Linked DNA regions of Homo sapiens: all the other regions are linked to region 2. The links are contacts of gene promoters, found by promoter capture Hi-C in human tissues and cell types (Jung and others, 2019). All regions are on one chromosome and are shown on one strand. Each heading gives the region's core, a stretch centred on a gene start or on the middle of the fragment in contact. The rest is flanking DNA. Distances are from core to core; before and after follow the strand shown. Region 1 overlaps FBXW7 (F-box and WD repeat domain containing 7). Region 2 holds the start of TMEM154 (transmembrane protein 154). Region 3 overlaps FBXW7 (F-box and WD repeat domain containing 7). Region 4 overlaps FBXW7 (F-box and WD repeat domain containing 7). Region 5 has its middle 110 kb from the start of FHDC1.

Region 1 (4,946 bases), core at 740-3,239, 330 kb before region 2:
GGTATAAACTTTCTATTTTTTTTTTTGGTTTTTGTCTTTAATTTGCACTTCTATTTTCTAGTGGCATTCTGTTTCAGTCCTCTTTTATGCAAAATGGAATATCATTTGTTCATACTCAATTTATAAACAGAATACAGAGTACTTTGTCAGAATAGATGGAACTGGACCAAAGCAATGCTGTATCACTGCCTTAGGAGCAATAGCAGAACAGTAAGGGGACAAGCTCTCCCATACTGCTTATTATGCAACAGAAAAGTCATCATGAAATGCCCCCACAGTATATTTGTAGAAAACATGCCAGTTTAATTATCCCTCAACTCTCTCACATAGGTCAACTCATGACTCCCCACTTTATTATGAAATTATATCTCTACAAGTTAGACATTAAAGCACAGTAAGCCTTTAGGCAAGTGAATCATTTCTAGTTACTCTGGGACCAGCCCTGAAAATAAAGGGCAGTGTACAACAATGAGGCCTTGGGTGTGTCAGAGACAGACATGGTACTCAAAAGATGAAGGTCCTGATCTACCTGTCCAGTTGACCTTTTGTTGCTACAGATTTCTTTGCTACAGAATATTTATCTGAAAAAAATGTATATAATACTATACCTGCAGGGGTAATTCCACATGCTATTCCTGTTAACTAAGAACATGTTTTCTTCACTGCACCTACTCCTTTTACAGGACCAAAAGCTATTCTAACATTCTTTAGCTTATTGAATACAGTTTTTTTTTTTTTCACATTAACATTTCCGAAATTGGAATGCATCTAAAAAAACTATGGTGTCTCAGATTTGATGAAATACAGCATGCGGTAACATTTGGACATTTTATTTAAAAAGCATAAGCTAGCTAAACAAGCAAACGGTGTACAATGAACTCTCTAAAATATCCTGACTAAAATAAAGCTGAAATGCCTCTTCCTATAGATCAATACTACAGAGTCCCTTTAAAATTGAGAAATATCCTAGATAGCAAGCAAAGAATATTCAGGTATTCCAAAACGTTGGAAAAAATGAGCCCTACCACAGAAAAAGTAAATCTTACTCTGAACTACCTTCTGAAAAGAAATAAGCCTTTTCATATAAAATAAGCATTTTGGAGGTTATCTACAATGATGATAAAACTATTGCTAATAGTGTAATTTTCAATCATGTTGGTATTTTCTTATAAAAATGATATGAAATCAGTGAAATCATGTGATATGAAATCAGAATGATATATGCTGTTCACACTACATGCATGTGTTAGCATGGCAACATACAACCATATTCCTACCTCTTTGGCTTAATCAGAGATGATAAAAATCTTTAAATTATTTTTTTAAGGCTATACAAGTGTCCGAGTTTTATTTTCGCCTCTTATTGACGGATAAATTTCCTTTTAAAAGGATGGGACAAAATTAAAAATTTAGAATTCTGAGGGTGTGCATAGGAAAAAATAAAAATTAATTAACATTTTACAAACCATCATGAACCAGAGGCAAAATAACTCAGGAGGAAGGGTAGGAATAATCCCTGGGGAAAAGGTAAGTTTAATCAACAAATGACTATGAAAATGAAAACTTAAAAAAAATTCTTTGTAATTACAGTGGCTTATAACATTTTAATAACAATAAAATCTAACTTTCATTCCTCTAACCCAGATTCTTTAGTACCATTGACATTTTGGGCTGGATAATTCTTTGGCATGGAGATCGTCCTTTGTATTGCCTCTACTTACTAGATGCCAGCAGTGTCCTGCGCCCCATCCCCTCAGTTATAAAAATGAAAAATGTCTTGAGACACTTTTGTCTCAACGCGGGGAAAAACTAATCCCTGTTGAGAGCAAGGCTTAAATCTTTCAGTTACCAACCAAAAAAAGGTTATCCTAGTTTTGCAGAAATCACCTGAAGGGTAGAAAACAATTTTAAAAAACCATTTAAAAGCAATACTGCTCCAAGTTAGTTTTCTACCTACAGAAGAAAAAAATAGACACATTTATCTCATATTCATCTAGGTATTTAAAATATTAGGGTTTACAAAGTGAACACCTTAAAAATCTGAAACACTAAAAGTCAAGTAAAGTATCATCTTTACCAACGATTATTGCCTTATGCATTGATTAAATACCTAACCATTCAAGCAGCCAGAGGTAGGGTAGTATATTCTTTTTACATTACTATGGAGGCTAATATCAGATATTTTTTACTTTACATAATTTATATTATTTATTATTTGCAACAAATAATTGAGTAAGTACTTAATCCTTGCCATGTATTTTGCTAAACACTTGATGTATATGCATTATCTTACTGGAAGAAGAGATAAATCAATGTAATATCACTATCTTAGGTTATAAAGTTCATAATATTCAGGGTTTGGTTGTAACCAATCTTCCCTGTACACATCCAAAGAATATAAATACTATTAAAATATAGTAATCAGGATTCAAGCATGGTAAGCCATATACAAGCATGGCACTGAAGAAAAGAAGCTGTATTAACTCTAGCTAGAATGGTTCTTAAATTACTCTTAAATGCCTAACTTACAAGCAATGCAGTTTAGAAAACTAGACAACCCAGAAATTCAAACAAAGGAGAAGATGAAGGAAGGTCTTATTATTTAAAAAGCAATAAAAAAAATGTCAGTGCACAGTTACACAAATAAGTATTGGACTTTCTCAATTATGACATTCAAAAATTGAGTTCCCTTGTTTTTAATAGCATTTTTAAATTGAAATAAACAGCACATAACATTCACCATTTTCAAGTATATACTTCAGTGCTTCCCAGTATATTCACCTTGCTGTGCAACCATCGCTACTATCCAATTCCAGAACACTTCCATCACCCCAAAAGGACAATCTGTACCTACTGGCAGTTAGTCCTTCTCCTCCCCTCATTGTCAGGCAACCATTAATCTACTTTCTGTCTCTATGGATTTGCCTATTCTGGACATTTCATATAAAGAGAATCAACATGTGGCCTTTTGTGTCTGGCTTCTTTCACTTGGCAGAATGATTTCAAAATTCATCCACAGTATACTATGTAACAGTGTTTCCTTCTTTTTTTACGGATGAATAATCCCTTATTTTGCAGCAATTAAGTGAGGCATTTCAAGTACTATGTTTAGATATGTCACCTGAAACATTTTTAGCCATTCCTGGAGGCCTGTAGGTGGCTGGACAGATGTAATTCGGCGTCGTTGTTGCCCTTGGCCATTGGCTGCTCTGAGGTCCCCAAAAGTTGTTGGTGTTGCTGAACATGGTACAAGCCCAGTGGTACTACAAAAAAAAAAAAAAGAGAGAGAGAAAGGATAAAAGGAAAAAAACAAAAGTGAAAGCAAAGATAGATACTTATTAATAATAGATTCTAGTACAAAGAATGATGATCTGGCATATTTCAAACATCAATTAATTACCTTTCTTCCCAGAGATCACAGGTACACAAAACCTATTTGCTATTCTTACAGTAAGTTTCCTCCCTCCTATATAACGCCTGTTATTATCCCAGAAATGCTAATTGCAACCAAATAACAGAATCTCCATGACAAAACTGCAAGTTGTTAATATATACAAATAAAGTTAAAATATTTCCTTAGAACATACAAGTCCCACTTCTCCTATGACTGGTCTTTGGTGACATAAGTAAAGTTTAAATTTTCTTTATAAAAAGGGTTGTGATACTTTATTAAAGCTTTAAAAAACTCAGACATAGAAATACTATGTTCAAATGTTTTGAATTTCAAGAATCACATTATTCCTTAAGTTTGCCTCAGATGCCTTCAAAATTGTCTATAATATTTCTAATTTTTTACTGCTATTTATAAAGTTTGGTCTGAATAGTTGACAGGACTCAGTCTTGATTAGAAATACATTTATTCAAAACAGGTAAGTATTAAGAACTTATATGCAAAACTAAATAAGATCATCTAAACATTTTTATACAATAATTTAAATTTTGAGATTTAACTGTCTCAAACAAACTTGAAATTCAATTCTGCCACTAGTAAAATGAGGACGACTAGATGATCTCTCTAAAACTAACTACCCTAAAAATGACCAATTAATAGCAGAAAGAATATATAACTATATTACTAACGTATTAAACTTTCCTTTCTAATTTCTGCATGTAATTAAACTAAACTCAAGGTAAATATTGGGTATCCATTTTAAAGACCTTGGAAAAAAAGCAGCAGGAAGGTCTGGTTTAACAAAATTATATTTGAAAAGAAATTCTCACTCAATTCATTGAGCTATGTTGATTAATTATTTTAAATTCAAAGAACACTTACAAATTGCATCGTAATAGTTAACAATCAAACTCTGATAAATTACTAATGAAACAACTCCTCCAGCTGTTTTTTTCTATCCAGCATTATTTTGTTAAAAAATGTATCTCAGTCACCAGATTTTACAGAAAAGTCTTCTTATCTACTCCCTTTAAATCCTCTAATAGTATAAATCGAAGACAATCTTTAACATTCAGCAATTAAATCTATCTTTTCTTCTTTCAAATTCAAAGGTAAGTTCTATTTTCTTTTCCTCCAAAATAAAATAGGATATGTTTATAACAAATTTTTGATGGAAAAATCATAGTTTTATCTTATTAGCAAATCTGTCAAAAATATCACAAAATACCAAATATATACCTTCCTAACCGAGAGTCTCCAGAAAAACATGGAAATAAATATGCTGTTTGGTCTAATTTTGCTTTAATAAAATTATATATTAACAGGCTAAAAATAAAACTTCTGCCTTTTCAGTTGCTTTGTCAATATAAAAAGTGAGCAACTAAAGACAAATTTTACTAAAATGTGTTCTGTAATAAAAATTCAGCACTCATTTATTCTAAGCTGCCTTAAAAACAAGTGAACAATGTAATACCTTTGTCCTGGTATCAGCCATATTAATAGAAGACTGATACATTTAAAAAATAGCATTAACAGTTAGTTTAACATTAAATGC
Region 2 (4,570 bases), core at 89-2,588:
TGCCCAATATGGTTTGAGCTGCATCATCTTCAAGTTCCCTTCCAGCTCCAAAACACTGGGCATAAAACAACACATCAACTTCCAAACCCACTCTGAACACTAAACTCAATTTAACCAGACATCTTTTCAGCTGGAATGATTTGCCTTCCACTTTGTTTTCTACCTCAGATGCCTGGGGGACCACATGGAGAACACCCAGGGGAAGAGAAATTGATGGAGTGGGGTGGCTGGGTGCTGGCTGCTGACCTCCAGGAAGTTGTCACATCTGTTAGGTTGGGGCTGATGTCCCTCATTCTATCTAAAGAACTGTAGCTTGAGAACTTTCCTTTTGCTTGGTAAATACTGCCCTACACTAGAAGCAGTCGGTGTTCATTGACAGAAACAATGGGCAGCCAGTGTATTTGCCCAAAGGCAAGTCAACAAGAGAGGCAGCTGAAGGTGCTTGTGCTTGTTGTAGCAACTGGCAAGGGTGTAAATCAGTTGTTGCTTTTAGCCCATAATAATGAGATTCAATATTGTTTTTTCCAATACCTTTGATTGGTTCCAATCATATTACTTTTTCAAACAAATCTTCATTAGTAACAATCAATGCAAAAAAAAAATCTGTAAAAGTAACAAGGTGCAATAAAAGTAGATGAAAGACCTTACTTGATGTGTTAGAGGGCTACCCTCTAACACATAGCTCTTTGGTAGCTCTTCGGATAATTTCCCGTTTCCTTTTTTTTTTTTTAAGTTTATGTCGTTTCTTTAGTATGCTTTCTAGTAGTAAATTTTCACACCCCAGTTTTTCCAGGAGATTTTGGAATCAGCAGACTTCTCAGCCCACACCATAAAAAGCAAATTAATCATGTCTCTGTTTCAGCCAATTGAAGCTTTTGTTTTTTTTTACATAAACTGCCAAAAAGTTTATGGTTTTCTTAATATGCCCATTAAAGCTGGTAAATTACAGGGACGCACACTTCCTGGAAGACAAAGACTGAAAGAGGGTTAAATGAAGTGAGAGCTGTAGCCAGTTTAGACAGCTGCAGCGAAAGCGAAGTCCCCTCTCCATCCCACCCCCCAAAAAAAGGAGTTCTAATTTTCTCCACTTCTTTCACAGAAAGGATTAGATTTTCTGGGTGTCACCCTCCCCGGCAGAGTTCTGTAGCCTCGGGCACCCTACCAGCTTTTGCGATCCTCCTTCCCAGGAGTAGGAAGTGGAGGCGGCTTACCCCGGCCGACGGGAACGAGCGCGATCACCAGGGCGAAGACTAGGGCTGCGCGGGGAGCCTGCATGTCCGCTCGCCTCGGCAGAGGCGCGCTCAGGATGCTGCGCCGGGCTGCAGCCTCTCTGAAACGTGAACATTTCCTGTTTCCTGCTTGTTTGGGTCGGTGCTGACTTGAAGGAGAGGTGTGTGCCTGTTTTTTAGGAAGTGATGTAATTCTGCAGGAGCCTGTCAGACCAGCAAGGATTGCAAAAGAGAAGTTGCTGTTGAAGCACTGGTTCTATTATCACGCCTCTCCAGCCCTTTGGAGTCCCGGCCTCCAGCTTTTGAAACCGTCCCCGGGGCAACAGAGTCCCTTGCTCAGATGTCGTTCGGTATCTGGGACTGGGAGGGGTCCTGGACCACACGCATTCTCACTCTGTGATTTTGCTTATCCCCCAGGTGAGGCTCCGGGGCTGCCTAGACCCTAGGAAGAAGCTGTCCTGTAGAACTTTCTGCCCTGATGGAAATGTTCCAAGTCTGCGCCGTCTGATACAGTATCAGCCACATTGGCCACTGAGCATTTGAACTGAGGCTAGTGCTGATGGAATTTAAATTTTATTGAATTTTTATAAAATTTTAATAACTCCAAGTGGCTAGTGGCTGCTGTGTTGGATAGCGCAGGCCCAGACAGCAGGGACAACTGCATCATCAGAAAACTGCCAGACCACTTCTCTCCGCCAGGTCCATTCTCCTTTCTCCACTCTGGAATGCCCTCCTCCCACCAAGGCCCACGCCAGATGGAGGTGGATGCCACACCCACACCTTAAGGTTATGTTCTGCTTCCCCAGAGAGAAATGATCTTTTCAAGGTCCATTTCCAAAGGAGAATATGCTCTGAGGGTGGAGGTAGGGGTGAATCTGCATCTCACCTTCCTTCCTTCTTACTTGACAATCAAGTTCTCAGACAACAAACAAAACAGGACAGAAACGAAATAGAATAATGGTAGAAATCCTATCCAATCGAAACAATACAGAAAGGTTGTGTCTAGTATACAGTGGAGATTAGTGTGTGTTGGGTGTTCTATTGGAGGTCCTTCCCTTGGTTTAGGTTTAGGGCCTAAGCATTCAGAATGCAGTTTCATAATCGTGGTGCCAAGAGAGACAGACAGATGGAGAGAGGGGTAGTGTTGAGGCATCAGACACATCTCATCTCTAAACCTTTCCCTGCAGATCACCATCTGAGTCATGACTTCCCGTCGTTTGTCTTCAGTGATCTGGTTGGTGCAAACGTATGAGGTGACTGGAATTCCTTAGCCCCTGACATAGCTGTTAATTTTTCTTTAATGCATTGCTGCTTTTCAATGTCATTAGTCACTGTTTATCTCAGTTATTATTCACAAGAAATAGGTTGGTGATTCATGTAAGGATCAGTTTGTTAATGGATTTACAGTATGCACTTTAATGTTTTAAACTGGCAATTAAGTCAATTCTTGATAAAATATGCTTTTTGCACCACAGGTGACAATACAGAACAAACAGCAGGAGAAAATAGACGTGCTCAAAACTGGGTGATTGATTTGAAAACAACAGAGAAAGAACTATTAATTAAACACTTGCTGAGCATGTGAATAGATCACGGGCTCCAAGACCTGCTGGTACTGAGTTGGGGTGGCAATTATTCCTGTACAAGCACGTGTTTCTGCAGCTGTGACACACACGTGCAAGAAAGCAGGCCCAGGGCTTGGGAGTTCTCTCCATTTTACCATTTATGCCCTATTAAAATATTATTAAATGTTATTAAAACATTGTTGAATCCCAGGCTGGAGGCAAATGTTTGTCAAGGGCAAGGTTGTCAGCCTTCGTTTCTTTCATCTTAAACTTCAGCTCCCTGTGGAAGCTTTTGCAGTCAGGTGTCTGTGGATTGGACCACAGACTGTCTTATTCTGTGGACCTCTGCTGAGCCCCATGACATGGCCAAACAGTTCATTACTGTTTCAACAAGTGCACTATGCATTGCTTCTGAGCAGTGCAACACTAAATCAGAGTGAGGTACAAAATAAACTGGAGCTGCAGAGAAATCCTGCCCAACCATGTAATTTTCTTTTGACCCCTGTGCTCTCTAAGACCCTTAGCATGATTAAGCTGATCTTAGGGGGAAGAAAATTACCATGATTGATCAGAAAATGGTAGCACCTCAATGATCTCTTTGCTGCAGTTAAAATCCCAGGGAGGCTGTGTGGTAGGTAAAGGGCTATTTACCTCTGTTTTAATTTTAGCAACCATTAATTTAGGCAAATAGCCACCCAGCCTCAGATTAAATCCCGATGCACTGGTGGCAGGAAGTCAGGGCCTCAGTCCCAGATGTGGGGCACAGGGGAACCTCAGAGTGAGTGGCACACAGGCAGGGGTAATGCCACTTTGGAGCCTGCCATTGGCTGTCTGAAAGCAGGAAAGAAGTATGGTGCTTCATCATGTTCAGAAGGGCAGGAAGGGACACTGGGAACCATGTCTAGGGACTCTTTATTACTTTACACAAAGGAGTGTGACTTTTACAATCAACTGTCTGTGCTACAGAAGTGACTCTCATCCTATCCTCCCTCCCTTCCCCCCGCCCCCTCCCCACCACCACTCCATGGGCCATAAAAGAAGAGGGACTCCAAGGGAACAAATCCAGATAAATGATAGGATCTTCCAGTGGGTGCAGACAGCCTTCTCCGCGTTCCTCTTCACACTCCGATCCTGCCATTCCCAATACACACAGATGTGCACATGCACTCAGATACACACACAGCTGTCTCTCACACACACATTCATGCACATGGTGGAAATAAATGAAGACTAAATGAGCACAAGCAAATGAAACCAAGCAATGGATATTAATTCAGAGCTTGCCATAGCAAGAGAGTCAGCCACCATCGCTGCATTTTGGCACAGACCCAAAGGCAGGCCAAGGAATGAGATAACTTTACAGTCGATAAAAGGAAGGCTCAGGGCCGGGTGCAGTGGCTCATACCTGTAATCCCAGCACTTTGGGAGGACAAGGTGGGCGGATCACCTGAGGTCAGGAGTTCAAGACCAGCCTGGCCAATATAGTAAAACCCCATCTCTACAAAAATACAAAAATTAGCCGGGCATGATGCGGGGTACCTGTAATCCCAGCTACTCGGAAGGCTGAGGCAGAAGAATCACTTGTACCTGAGAGGTGGAGGTTGCAGTGAGCCGAGATCCCACCATTGCAGTCCAGCCTGGGCGACAGAGCAAGAGTCGTTTCAGAAAAAAAACAAAAGGAAGGCTCAGGTATGGCCTGAAGGGAGGCTGCTGGCATGGGGAACCAGCAGCAAGTTCTAGTGATTGGTGAGGAGGTGCATATTTTGCTGCTGCTAG
Region 3 (4,854 bases), core at 468-2,967, 290 kb before region 2:
TGGATACCAAGTTTTGGTAAGCACAAGGGGGTAACATTCTAATTCAATTATTATTTTTTTAAATCAGTAAATAGCTGCCCTCAACTGGATAATACAGGGCATTGCAACTGTGGCAAACCAAACGCTGTAACAGAATCCTGTGTTTGTCATAATATATTTTTGGAAAAAGAAGACATTATCAATGATTGGGCAAAGTGAGTACTAATTTCCAAATATATATACTACAAGTTTCATTTTTTTGGGAGGATTCAAGTAACAGTATTTCTAATGCGATATTCCCAATCAACACGAAACACTAAAAAAACAAACCTTCAAATATAGACAAAAACCCTAATAAATGAGGGAAATCATAGACAAGGTATATAAGAACCCCAACTGTTAATACTTCAAAATGTAGCTAATTCCATGTGTTCAAGAAAAGATAAAGTCTGAGTCTCAATTCTACTCTTAAAAACATTAAAGATACTCTTTAATTACTACCCAAATTGAGACTCTTAAAAACAGACAAGCTCTTTTAAAGATGATACCACAAATAATAAGGCAGTGCAATATGATAGGTAGGAACATGGACTCCAGAACCAAACTAACTTAGTCCAAATCCTGGCTTTACCAGGTATGACCTTAATTTAATTCGTGTCTCAAGTTCACCTAGGCAGTACTCATAGGACTGTTGTGAGGATTAAAAATTAGTTGATATAAGTATACAGAGTAACGCCTCACATCTAGTAAGTGTTCGATAGTGTTAATTAAACTGTCATTATGATTACTACTACTATTAATGGAATCAAAAATCACATAGAGCTTTGTAGATTACATTTCCAATTTTAAAATCACCAGGAAATAAAGCAGATTCTAAAATCCATCTATAATAACTTTGGAAAAGAATATTTTAAAACATATTATTTGTAAGTTTCAGAAAGACTTCTATAATTCTGTCAAAATTTTTGCCAAAATATGAAGCTGTAGTATCTTAGCCATAGTGTCTTGGCATTTTAAGATTCCAGATACCACTGATCATCCAAGATGGGCTAAACATTAGGGAACTTGTAGTAAAGAAAAGGTCTTTATATAAGGTAACTTATTTTGCCCACTTATCACTCCCTGATTTTCTTTCTTCTAAAAATTTGCATCCGTAAAAACAATTATATATAAATGTGACATGTAATAAAATATCACCAATACGGTATCTGTAAAATGCATTACAAGTCCAAGCACTCCAATTCTCTTGTAACAACAATAAAAATACCATCACAGCAATTTACTCTGGATTTCCATCTTTTCTTTCATTCAGTATTATACAAAAGGCTAGAAATTTAACTGCTCCTGACCAAAGCCACAGCATATGAGCAGCACAAAGATTTTCCATTTTTCATAAATTATTCCTGAATCAGCTAAAACAAATCACTCAGAAGATGTAAATCTCCCTGCAAATTCAAATTGACTTTATACCAAGAGTTTTCAAAGTCTTACCTCAAAAACTTTCACAGGAATAATATCAACGTATGTTATTTGAATTCAGTATTATTCACTGCTTCTGTGAATTCAGGCAACAAGTGACTTACTCTGTTGTAGAAACAGAAAGTCCCACATGCTAAAAAGTATACCATTACTGAAGTGCAATAAATCAGAATCAAAATCCTTCTGATCAGATAATATGGTATTATCAAGCATACTCACTTATTTCACAGATACAGAGTAAAGCAGATTATTTTATCTACCAAATCAGTTTTTAGTCTTCCTAACATCATAGATATCAGAGTATTAAAGTATTTCCCTACCAAGCAATTCACAAATGAACGCAATTCATGGTTGAAGACGGAACAATTTAAACACAGAGGAAAACAATCATAAATCAATAAATTAAACCCTCTGCTTAATGATAAATTATCAAGCTTGTATTAGCAAAAACTGTAAAAAAAAAAAAAAAAACATCCAGCAAGCAACATATTACTTTAAATGCAGAAACATAAATACAATTAGATTGGGCATCAAAGAAAAAAAACATGGCATACCTTTTTTTTTTTTTTTTTTGAGACTGAGTCTTGCTCTGTTGCCTAGGCTGGAGTGCAGTGGTGTAATGTCGGCTCACTGCAACCTCCGCCTCCCAGGTTCAAGCAATTCTCCTGCCTCAGTCTCCTGAGCAGCTGGGATTACAGGTGCCCACCACCACGCCCAGCTAATTTTTGTTATTTTTAGTAGAGACAGGGTTTTACTATGTTGGCCAGGCTGGTCTCGAACTCCTGACCTTGTGATCCGCCCACCTCGGCCTCCCAAAGTGCTGGGATTACAGGCGTGAGCCACAGCGCCTGGTCAGGATATCTTTTAAAGTTTTAGTATTTTTTTTTTAAGCTTTAGTATTCACAAAAGGTATGTCAAATAAATTAAAATGTTTTTATAAGATTAAAATCACATTTAAAATGATTACTAAAAATGTTCTAAAAGATATTTATTTACATGCTCAAAGTGCTCACTCAGATTACAACTTCCAATTATAATGTATTTGAGACATTACATGTATGTAAACATTCAATGGACAACATACTGCACTTCCCTGCTAATTTTCTTCATTTGGGCAACAAGGGCGGCCCCTAACTAAGAGAAATATGCTTGGGTTCTGAAGCAGCACATACAACATACACAAGTGTTATAAAAATGTGACCTGATAATTGGACATTTGCAAAATAAAAGCATTGCATGTACATGCCTATATGCACAGATAGGTAGCATTCTCAAAATAAAAATGCCAGAATACTAGATTATATAAGGTATTGTAACTGCTCTGATTTATGGAATCAACATCTCAATGTTAGACATTTAAGCTGTTTTATATTCCAGTTATTTCCAAAAATTTTGCTGAAAATACATTATAAATTAAAAAGTAAAACACAGAAAACCAACCAAAACAAGTGCTAATAAATTATAAGTTGACAGATGACAAAACCATCCCATGGTACACCAGAAACTCCAAGATTCAGGAACCTTAACTATTTAATGTCTTGCAGTACAATTACCTGGAGTTTATACTTCAGATTTCTACAAAGAGGAGGCTAAATATTTAATAGATATAGACTATCTGACTTCTCTTCAGATGATTGAGATTAAGTCCCTTGCAGGTTTAAGAGTACATTACATCTCTAAATCAACAGAATGAAAAGACAACCTACAGAATGGGAGAAAATATTTGCAAACTATGCTTCTAACAGGGGGCTGATATGCAGAATTGACAGGCAACTCAACAACAAAAACCAAATTAACTTCATTAAAAAGTGGGAAAAGAACATGAATAAATACTTCTCAAAAGAAGACATACATATTTTTTCATGCCTACAAGCATGAAAAAATGTTCAACATCATTATCAAAGAAATGCAAAGTAAAACCACAATGAGATCTCATCTCACACCATTCAGAATGGCTATTATTAAAAAGACAAAAAATAATAGATGTTGGCGAGGATGTGGAGAAAAAGAAATGCTTATACGGTGTTGGTGGGAATGCAAATTAGTACAATCTCTATGGAAAACATTATGGAGATTTCTCAGAGAACTAATAATAGAACTATCATTTGATCCAGCAATCCCACTACTGGGCATCTACCCAAAAGAAAAGAAATCATTATTTTAAAGATGCCCAAGAATTTAGTTGGTGATTATAATAGTTATAACTTTAAGTCAACTATGATAACTAACCCACATATATATATGTTTACACACACACACAAATGGAATACTATTCAGCTATAAAAAAGAATGAAATGTCTTTTGCAGCAACATGGATGGAATTGGAGGTGATTCTTCAGTGAAACAACACAGAAACAGAAAGTCAAATACCACGTTTCACTTACAAGTGAAAGCTAAGTAAAGTGTACACATGAACATGGAGTGTGTAGTAATAGATATTAAGAGACTCAGAAGGGTGACATGCAGGGAGGATGCTGAGAGATGAGAAATCACTTAACGGGTACAATGTATACTATTTGGGTGACAGGTACACTAAAGGCCCAAATTTCACCACTATGTAATATATCCATGTAAAAAAAACTAGAGTACCCCTTAAATTTATACCAAAAAAAAGCATATTACAGCTCTAATAATATTACATATATGGCCTTCTTGTAAGAAGGTTCAATTTGGTGAGCTTTCCTTTATTATAGTTTAGTGAACAATATAGCTAGTTTATAAAATATATCCAAATAAAATGCATTGTTTCAATTCTTTTGTGTCTGCCTTCTTTTACAAAAGGCATGTATGCCTGTGCTCTAAATGTTTTTGTATAGTAATAAGAAAACATTTTTATTGGAAAGAAGCTACAGGCATAATGATTTTTAAAAAAATTTTTAAAAGATGAAATTCAAGAAAAATAACCTCAGGATTTTTCTGATTCCATATTATACTATAATAATATGTGTGTGTGTTTATATATTTTTTTCCTCTCCTACCTACTGTAGTGGTCTAAACACTAGCATATAGAGTATATTTGACTTTTTTTTTTTAATGAGTAAACTTTGGATTTTATTTCTATTATTTGTGCCTAAGAACTTTAGTTGTTAAAATACTTTTCCTCATCCTTTCATTAAGCATTTTAAAAAGTACTTAAGATAAAACAAAAATCCAACTATCCCACTGAATTTTCTAAGTATTTCAGAAATGCCCAGTATGAAGTCTTCAATGACTTAACATAACCTGTCTCATGATTAAGCTTAACTCTTACAGGCTGAGCTGGGTTACCCCAGCTGTTAAAATGGCCTTACACAGCTGCTCACCAAGAATTTAGTTCGTGATTATTATAGTTACACCTTTAAGTCAACTATGACAAAAATGACACAGTAATTACAGGTATTTCAGTCATGCAAAAAG
Region 4 (4,575 bases), core at 365-2,864, 320 kb before region 2:
ATAGTTAGAAGCACTTTGCTATCTTCTCAACATTCTCATAGAAATATTTTATTTACAGATTCACTTTCTTAAAATTTATTTTAGCACATGATTTAAAAAATATTTACCTATAAACACTTGAGACCTCCAAATGTTTGAAAACTAACTTTTGACAGGCATGGTGGCTCACACCTGTAATCCCAGCATTTTGGGAGACCAAGGCTGGTGGATCACTTGAGGTGGAGACCAGCCTGGCCAAGAGTGAAACCCCGACTCTACTAAAAATACAAAAATTAGCCGGGTATGGTGGTGTGCACCTGTAATCCCAGCTACTTGGGAGGCTAAGGCAGGAGAATTGCTTGAACTCGGGAGGTGGAGGGTGCAGTGAGCCGAGATTGCAACACTGCACTCCAGCCTGGGAGACAGAGCTAGACTCCATCTCAAAAAAAAAAAAAAAAAAAAGAACAGAACAGAACAGAAAAAAGAAAAGAAAAAAGAAAGCTTATCACATTTAATACATGATTCTAAAAACTCCTTTATGTGGAATGAATATCATAAGTTTCCCACCAGTTGCATGAAGGCATGGTATGTAATGATGGAATGATGACTATTAAACAAATATGAATTATAACTAAAATTAAGAACTGCTCCTGATATGAACAAGTGCATATAGCTGTGGTCTGTTACGAACTGCTACATGGTAAATTGAGACCACTTTTTAAAGCTAAATCTTAGATTTCTTAAAATCTAAGTTTATGAGTCAATGTATGTTCATAATTATACAATATGAAAAAATCCTATGAGGAATAGTCTAAATCTACCCAAAAGAATATCAATTCAAAGCTAGCAAAAGGATGCTGAACTTTAGTGTAATCTTAAAATTCCAGTATTTTTTAGTTCATGAGATGATAAAGAAGACACACACATATTCCTTTCTTCATTTTAAACCTTTCCTTTAAAGTCATTCCAACAACAGACAACTTAGCATATTAAAAAAGAACTTAGGGCCGGGCGCAGTGGCTCATGCCTGTAATCCCAGCACTTTGGGAGGCTGAGGCAGGTGGATCATAAGGTCACGAGTTCAAGATCAAGTTCACCAGGCCATCACCTGGCCAAGATGGTGAAACCCCGTCTCCACTGAAAATATAAAACAAATTAGCCAGGCATGGTGGTGGGCACCTGTAATCTCAGCTACTTGGGAGGCTGAGGCAGAGAATTGCTCAAACCCGGGAGGCAGAGGATGCAGTGAGCCAAGATTGCACCACTGTACTGCAGCCTGGGCAACAGAGTGAAACTCTCTCTCTCAAAAAAAAAAAAAAAAAAAAACAACAAGAACTTGGAATAGTTTTCAAGAGAAGATAAATGAAGATATGTTAATCATCATGATCACAACATAAACAGCAAAGATTAAAATTAAGTGGTATTTTCCAAGATATTTTTAGTCACCTGACTTTTATTAAACCATTGCAATAAACAGATTTTGTTAGACTAAGATGTAATTTACCCCCTACCAATCCATTTATTTCAAAGACTTTAACTTTGTGAGATTCACAATATTTGTTTATCATTTATAGGTAGCACAGAAAAAGCTAGTGACTGAGAGCAATTCATGTGAGCCTCTAACTCCAAATTCCATTATAATATTATCAGTCTCATCCAAATGAATCCTGAGTCATATAATGATTCTCCATTTTCTAAACAATAAAACAAGAGGGAGAAAAAATTAAGCAGTGATTCAAATGTTATATTTTTAGATCTAGATCTACCACATTTTAGAAATATTTGTCCAGGGTTACTAAAAGCCAAGCACTAAGCAAAAAAGATGCAAAATTGAGCAAGATGTAATATCTATCCTGGAAGCACTCCCAACTCAGGAGGGAAGGACAGGCAAGTCAATAAAAAATGACAAATCCATTTGACTAATAAGTGAAACTGCTTAATTTGTATGACAATATATACAACTAGAAAGAGGAAGAGATAATATTTTCAAGAAATGCACATGGCAATATTTTAAACCAAATGTATACAAGAAAAATAAACACTAGATTTTAAACTGACCTGAATGCTCTTTCAGTGCCCACTATCAAAGATGCTGCAAACTTTATTCCAGTTTGAATAAGCAACTCCTTTTCAAAAAGATGTTTTCTTAAGAATACAATGTATACAGGGAAGGAAACTCACTATATGTCAGGCACTCTTCCTAGGTGTTTTTCTTATATTAATTCAATGAAACGGTTTAACAACTTTCTGCAGAAAGTACTATTATTATCTCTATTTTACAGATGAGGAAAGAGGCACAGAGAGTTTTAAGCGACCCCAAGGTCACTTAAGGTAGATGGGATTTGAACCTAAGGAAGTCCTGGTCTTCAGTTTACAAAAAAATAAAAATAGGGTTCTCTATATACAAAGCAAGAAATATTGGCAGTTTAAATATCTCTAAGATGTTTTCTTAGTTATTTCAGTATGCAAATGTGTGATGTGAATATGAAATCCACACTAGAGCCACTGCAGACTTGCAGAAAGAAGAGACGGACTATGCAGCTAATTGTGTACTGTGATACACTTTATTTCTGGGAATTCACCAGGAGCAGCTTGACAACAAGTTAATACACTACTGCCAGTGGCTCCGCTTGGTTAAGAACTGCTCTTATAATCTGTGACATTATATTGAGGCCAGGCAGTCATCAGTGGGCATACTGGAAGAAACACAACAACAAATGGGTTTTGCTTCCTTTTCCCAAACCCTCTCAGGACTTCTATGTCTTACTCTCCTTCCTTCATGTCCTGCTTTATTTCCCTAAAATATGAAATAAAAGAGAGCTGAAAACACAAACATCAAAGGATCTCCATTGCAGTGTCCTTTCAACGAAGCTACTAGGTTTTTTCCTCCTTACCAAAATGATTTGAACCCTATGGAAAACTGGCAAAAGTTATGAATCATAATATTTATGAAAGAAACTGCTTCAAATGTTCTTTGTTGATTACTCAAACCCAAATACACTTAATAAGGGACTATGACTTCTTCATTGAAAATTTTTTTAGTACACAGCCTAAAAATACTTGACTTACTAACCAAGTAGTAACAAATACACAGGATTTTCCATCTGAATACATAGAGCACATGCTTTTCAATATGTGGCTATCATTTGGGCCCTGTTTCTTAACTTCATTACATAAGGCCTTTTTTAAAGAGCCAATCCATCTTCATTAATTGTCCATTTGATCCATGTATGGTTATCATTCCTAACAGTGAACATCTGTATTGAAACATATGTATCTCTGTGATTCTACCCTACACTTTGTCTCAAGTATCTCCATAATTATATTCTACCTAATATACATAATTACAACACATGCAGATTTACATGGTTATTTCAGTCTGCCACAGATACTCCCATTCATTCAATATAATAGTTACTTAGTTGCCTAACATAAGCTAAACTAAGTCTTGTGTCTGTTTCATGGCTGGAGTTCACAGCATAGTGGGCAAGATAATGAGACAAAACAAAGCAAAACTGCAACTGTGGTAAATGCTGCAGTGTTCGAAGAGTGTTAAGAATGGTGAGGTTTCCACCTAGTCTGTGGGTTCACAGAAGGCATCTTCTCGCTGAATGAATGACTGAGCTAGGTTCGGAGCAGGGAGGGATAACCACCTATAGCTAGAGGACACTGAACAGAGGTAGGATGGCAGGTGTAAGATGAGGCTGAAGAAGTAGACAAGGGATACATTACCCAAGACCTCAAAGGATTTTGGGTTTTACCATAAGAGTAATGAAAAGCTAATGCTGCATAGTAGTTAAGAAAAAGATATAATCAGATGTTATTTCTTGAAAAAAATCATTCAAAGTGTAATGCTGAAAATAGAATGGCAGTGATTGAGAGTAGATGTGGAGAGACTGTGTGAGGAAGTTATTCCACTAGACCAGGCAAGAGATAATGATGGCTTCGATTAGCTAGGTAGAAACAGAGATGCATAGGAGTGGGCAGTTAAGAGACATTTAGGACATCAAACTGATAGGATAGTAACAGATGGGTCATGCATGGCAAGTAAAAAAGAGGAAGGTATCAAAGATAACACCTGTTTTCTCACTTGTGCAATTGGATAACAAGGACTGGGTTAGTTGGTTGTTTTTTGTTTTCTGGGGGCCAGGGGTGAGGAGGATCTTGAGATATCTTGGAGATAACTGGGTATCCAAATCTCATGCTCCAACTGGTTCTGGCCCAGAAGAAAGGTCTGGGTTGGAGATGAAAATATGTGAATTATCTGTATACAGGCTATCTCTGATTTCCCAGTGCTTGAAGCCAACACCTTGTTACAGTGTGAGCACATTAAATATTTGTCTGTCTTCTCCAATAGACTGTAAGTTCCATGAGGGCAGTATTTTTATTCTGTTTTGATTCTTGTTGTATCTCAGCTCCTCACATAGTTCCTGCATATAGTAGGGTACCAATAAAAAATATTTATATGAGATAATTAGCCACACAAGACATACCCTAATCAACAATGGTAGAGCTACAGAAATAACAACAGAAAACCATTAATTTTGAACACAATTTTAAAAACTCATAATTTTCTAAATAAGAAATGATGATGTA
Region 5 (4,514 bases), core at 68-2,567, 370 kb after region 2:
ACTGTTAGTTCTTTGAAAAATCTCCAAACTGCTATCCACAGTGGCTGAACTGACTTACATTCCCACCAACAGTGTGTAAGTGTTCCCTTTTTTCCACAGCCCTGCCAACATCTGTTATGTTTTTTACTTTTTAACAAAGGGCATTCTGAGTGGTTTGAGGTGGTATCTCACTGTGGTTTTAATTTGCATTTCTCTGGTGATTAGTGATGTTGAGCATTTTTTCATGTTTGTTGGCCACATATATGTCTTCTGAGAAGAAATACATGTCCTTTGCCCACTTTTTAATGGGGTTATCTGTTTTTTGCCATGGTCACCATTGCACTCCAGCCTGGGCAACAAAAGGAGACTTTGTCTCAGAAAAAAAAAAGAAAGAAAATATTCATCTACGTTTTCTTCTAGAAGCTGTATTTTTTACCTTTCACATTAAGACCTATAACCTATTTTGAATTAATTTTTGTGTGTAGCATTAAGCAGGTATGAAAGTTCATTTTTCCCATATAGATATACACTTGACCCAGGAACATTTATTGACAGAGTCCCTTTGTCATGAATCAATTTAAGCTTCTTATAGATTCTGGATAGTAGACCTTTGCCAGATGCAGAGTTCTGTGAATATTTTCTCCCATTCTGTAGGTAGTCTGTTTACTGCATTAATAGTTTGTCTTGTTGTGCAGAACCTCTTGTCAATTTTTGTTTTTGTTGAAATTGCTTTTGAGGACTTAGCATAAATTATTTTCCAAGGGTGATGTCGAGAAAGGTATTTCCTAGATTTTCCTCTTGGATTCTTATAGTTTGAGGTCTTATATTTAAGTCTCTAATCCATCTTGAATTACTTTTTGCATATGGTGATAAGTAGGGGTCCAGTTTCATTCCTCTGCATATGGCTAGCCAGTTATCACAGCACCATTTATTAAACATGGAGTCCTTTCCCCATTGCTTATTTTTGGTAATTACCCAGTCTCAAGTATTGCTTTACAGCAACACAAAATGGGCTAAGATGGTACCTGTTTAAATCTCTTGCTCATTTAGAAATTTTGATTATTTATCTTTTTTCATTTGAAGGTGCTCGCTACATATTCTGCACATAGATGCTTTATCAGATATATCTATATGAATATCTCTCAGTCCGTGGTTTGCCTCTTCACTCCCTTAATATATATTTTGGTGAAGAGAAGTTTCTTAATTTTAATGTAGCCCATTGATCAACCTTAATTTTTAATAGTTAGTGACTTTTCCGTTCTACTTAAGAAATCTTTGACTACCCCTATGGTCATGAAAATATTCTTTTTGGTTGGGCACGTTCACTCATGCCTATAATCTCAGCACTTTGGGAGGCCAAGGCAGGAGGATCACTAGAGCCCAGTAGTTTGAGACCAGCCTAGGCAATACAGTGAAAGTCTCTACAAAAAAATACAAAAATTAGCCAGGCATGGTGATGCGCATCTGTAGTCCCAGATACTCAGGAGGCTGAGATGGGAGAATCACTTGAGCCCAGCAGTTTGAGGCTATGGTGAGCCATGATCACCATTGCACTCCAGCCTGGGCAACAAAAGGAGACTTTGTCTCAGAAAAAAAAAAGAAAGAAAATATTCATTTATGTTTTCTTCTAGAAGCTGTATTTTTTACCTTTCACATTAAGACTTATAACCCATTTTGAATTAATTTTTATGTGTAGTATTAAGCAAGTATGAAAGTTCATTTTTCCCATATAGATATATGCTTGACCCAGGACCATTTATTGACAGGGTGCCTTTGTCATGAATCAACTATGTGATTTGTCACATATTGTATATGTGTAGGTTTGTTTCTGGGCTCTTGATTCTGTTCTATGGATTTATTTAAATATTCTCGTGTCAATACCATGTTGCCTTGATTACAGCCTCTATTTCTTGAATGCAAAGTCTTCTTCATAGCTATTATTTTTTTCCCAGAAAAAAAGTATAATTTTTTAGTAATTAAAGTCCTCACCCTCCTGATAAGTTTTCCCTAAATTTTTAGGTTGGATACTCTTAAACCACTTTTTAAAATAATAATAAAAAGCTAAACTAATATGTACTTTACCTTTTTCTTTTTTTTTTTTTTTGAGACAGAGTCTCACTCTGCTGTCCAGGCTAGAGTGTAATGGTGTGATCTCGGCTCACTATAACCTCCACCTCCTGGGTTCAAGCGATTCTCCTGCCTCAGCCTCCCGGGTAGCTGGGATTATAGGCATGCGCCACCATGCCTGGCTGGTTTTTGTATTTTTAGTAGAGATGGGGTTATGCCATGTTGACTACCCTGGTTTTGAACTCCTGGCCTCAAGCAATCCACCCACCTTGGCCTCCCAAAGTGCTAGGATTACAGGTGTGAACTTTATATTTTCAGTGGACGTTTTATTGAAGTATACCATCTGGAGAGAAGTACACACATCATAAATGTACAGCTTGACGAATTTTCACAAAATGAATGCACTCATGTGTCTAGCACCCAGATCATTATTAGCCCCTCCTGCCCCCGCTCGCCACTGCCCTGACTTCTGACACTACTGAATGATTTCTGCCCACCACCCCCAACCCAAGACGAAGTCTTGCTCTGTCACCCAGGCTGGAGTGCAGTGGTGCCAACTTGGCTCACTGCAACCTCTACCTCCCGGGTTCAAGCAATTCTCCTGCCTCAGCCTCCCAAGTAGCTGGGATTACAGGCATGTGCCACCATGCCCGGTTGAATTTTGTATTTTTAGTAGAGATGGGGTTTCACCATCTTGGCTAGGCTGGTCTCTAACTCCTGACCTCAGGTGATCCGCCCACCTCGGCCTCCCAAAGTGTTGGGATTACAGGTGTGAGCCACCCTGCCCAGGGTGTTGGTTTGGAAATCTATATGACTATGTAACACTTATTCTTCTGTGTTAGACATCTTTTATTCAACATTGCATCTGTAAGCTTTATCCATACCATTATATGTAGTTGTAGCTTCTTTATTATCATTGATACATAGTATTCCATTGTATGAATTTATGATAATTTTTTATCCATTCTTGCATTAGTCAATTCTCACACTGCTAATAAAGACATATCCAAGACTGGGTAATTTATAAAGGAAAGAGGTTCAATTGACTCACAATCCAGCCTGGCTGGGGAGGCCTCAAGAAACTTACAATAATGGTGGAAGGAGAAGCAGGCACATCCTTCTTCACATGTGGCAACAAGAAGAAGTGCCCAGCAAAAGGGAGGAAAGCCCCTTATAAAACCATCAGATCTTGTGAGAACTCACTCACTACCACAAGAATAGCATGAGGGTAACCACCTCCATGATTAAATTACTTCTCACCAGGTCCCTCCTGCGACATGTGAGGATTATGGGAACTACAATTCAAGATGAGATTTGGGTGGGGACACAGCCAAACCACATCAACTCTATTGTTGAATATTTCATTTTTGCCCCAGTTTTTGGCTACTATGATTAGTGCTACTATCAGCATTATTATATATGTGTTTTAATGGACAGATGCAAGCTTTTCTGTTGGGTGTATACCTAGGAGTAGAATTGCTGTTTCATAGGGAATGCATTATAAATAGCTTTAGTAGATGCTGTTAAACAGTGTTCCAAAGCAGATGAACAAATTTACACTCCTCCAGTGATGCATGAGAGTTCTAGTCACTCCACATCTTCTCTCAACACTTCATATTATCTTTTCCATAGTAGCCATTCTGGTGGTGTGTAGTGGTCACTTGCTATGGTTTGAATTAGAATTTATCTGATGACTCATAAAGTTGAGTATTTTTTCATCAGTTTATTTACCATTGCCCTCTTTGGTGAAGTGCCCATTTAAGTATCTTACCCTTTTTTCTGACTGAGCCGTCTGCTCAATATATCTATTAGATTATGCTTGATAATTGTGCCATTAAATTCTTCTCTGTTATTACATATGTCCTGTATGTTTGATTTATCAGGGTTTAAAAGTATCAGAATTACCTGAGAAATTTAAATAAATGCCCTTGGTGAGATCCCATCTCTGATGATTAAATCTGGATTTCTGATGAATGGAATCAGTGTAGCACAAGCATTGATATTTTTTAAAACATTAAAACTTTTTATTTCAAACATACAAAAGAGTTGCAAAATAGTCCAAAAAATCTCTATATCCCCTCTCCCAGTTTTCCAAAATGTTAACATTTTATCACTCTTACTTTATGATTTATTGTATCTATATCTATGTTTAGATCAAGATCTAATTTATTCTCTGAATAATTTGGGCAAAGTTGCAGATATGTTGCCCCTTTACCTCAGTCTAGTAGTTCTGAGAGAATTTTCTCCTTCTGATTTGGTAGAATTTTTGTTTTGTAAATTTCCAAGCTATGTTGTTAGGTCTAGATAGACATGATTATTCTATCTTCCTGGTGAATTGTTTCTTACTTTATCTTTTTATTTTTTAACCAACATGTAGTGCTCTTCATTAATTCTATTGTTATTTGTTTCCCTAAATTCTATAATATCCAACATTAAAATTACTGTATCATCTTTTTTATTAATATTTG

What was found. The method cuts DNA at HindIII sites, captures the fragments that hold promoters and counts their contacts. A contact is called where the count stands out against the background at its distance.
Region 1: a contact is called between a fragment that was not itself captured here and the fragment with the promoter of TMEM154 in region 2, in 1 of the 25 tissues and cell types used here (lymphoblastoid cells).
Region 3: a fragment that was not itself captured here is called in contact with the fragment with the promoter of TMEM154 in region 2 in 1 of the 25 tissues and cell types used here (lymphoblastoid cells).
Region 4: a fragment that was not itself captured here is called in contact with the fragment with the promoter of TMEM154 in region 2 in 1 of the 25 tissues and cell types used here (lymphoblastoid cells).
Region 5: a fragment that was not itself captured here is called in contact with the fragment with the promoter of TMEM154 in region 2 in 1 of the 25 tissues and cell types used here (dorsolateral prefrontal cortex).

The regions. Positions count from the first base shown.
Region 1 is chr4:152,343,809-152,348,754 of GRCh38, forward strand. It overlaps FBXW7 (F-box and WD repeat domain containing 7), which reads right to left. Exons shown (of 14, transcript NM_001349798.2): 6 at 3,122-3,263. Among named protein-coding and RNA genes, the nearest start is that of FBXW7-AS1, 8.6 kb to the left of the region's middle. The HindIII fragment of the contact is 8,174 bases long and covers 1-4,946 here.
Region 2 is chr4:152,678,659-152,683,228 of GRCh38, forward strand. TMEM154 (transmembrane protein 154) reads right to left here and starts at 1,339. Exons shown (of 7, transcript NM_152680.3): 1 at 1,212-1,339. The coding sequence starts at 1,275. LOC105377495 (a long non-coding RNA gene) reads left to right here and starts at 1,427. Exons shown (of 4, transcript XR_939359.3): 1 at 1,427-1,646; 2 at 1,929-2,015; 3 at 2,417-2,482; 4 at 2,705-3,004. RefSeq lists enhancers at 973-1,802, 1,113-1,422. The HindIII fragment of the contact is 4,840 bases long and covers 1-4,507 here.
Region 3 is chr4:152,385,696-152,390,549 of GRCh38, forward strand. The region is part of intron 4 of FBXW7 (F-box and WD repeat domain containing 7); the gene reads right to left. Among named protein-coding and RNA genes, the nearest start is that of FBXW7-AS1, 50 kb to the left of the region's middle. The HindIII fragment of the contact is 3,609 bases long and covers 1-3,522 here.
Region 4 is chr4:152,361,545-152,366,119 of GRCh38, forward strand. All of the region lies in intron 4 of FBXW7 (F-box and WD repeat domain containing 7), which reads right to left. Among named protein-coding and RNA genes, the nearest start is that of FBXW7-AS1, 26 kb to the left of the region's middle. The HindIII fragment of the contact is 7,970 bases long and covers 1-4,575 here.
Region 5 is chr4:153,048,744-153,053,257 of GRCh38, forward strand. No RefSeq gene overlaps it. Among named protein-coding and RNA genes, the nearest start is that of FHDC1, 110 kb to the left of the region's middle. The HindIII fragment of the contact is 3,773 bases long and covers 1-3,204 here.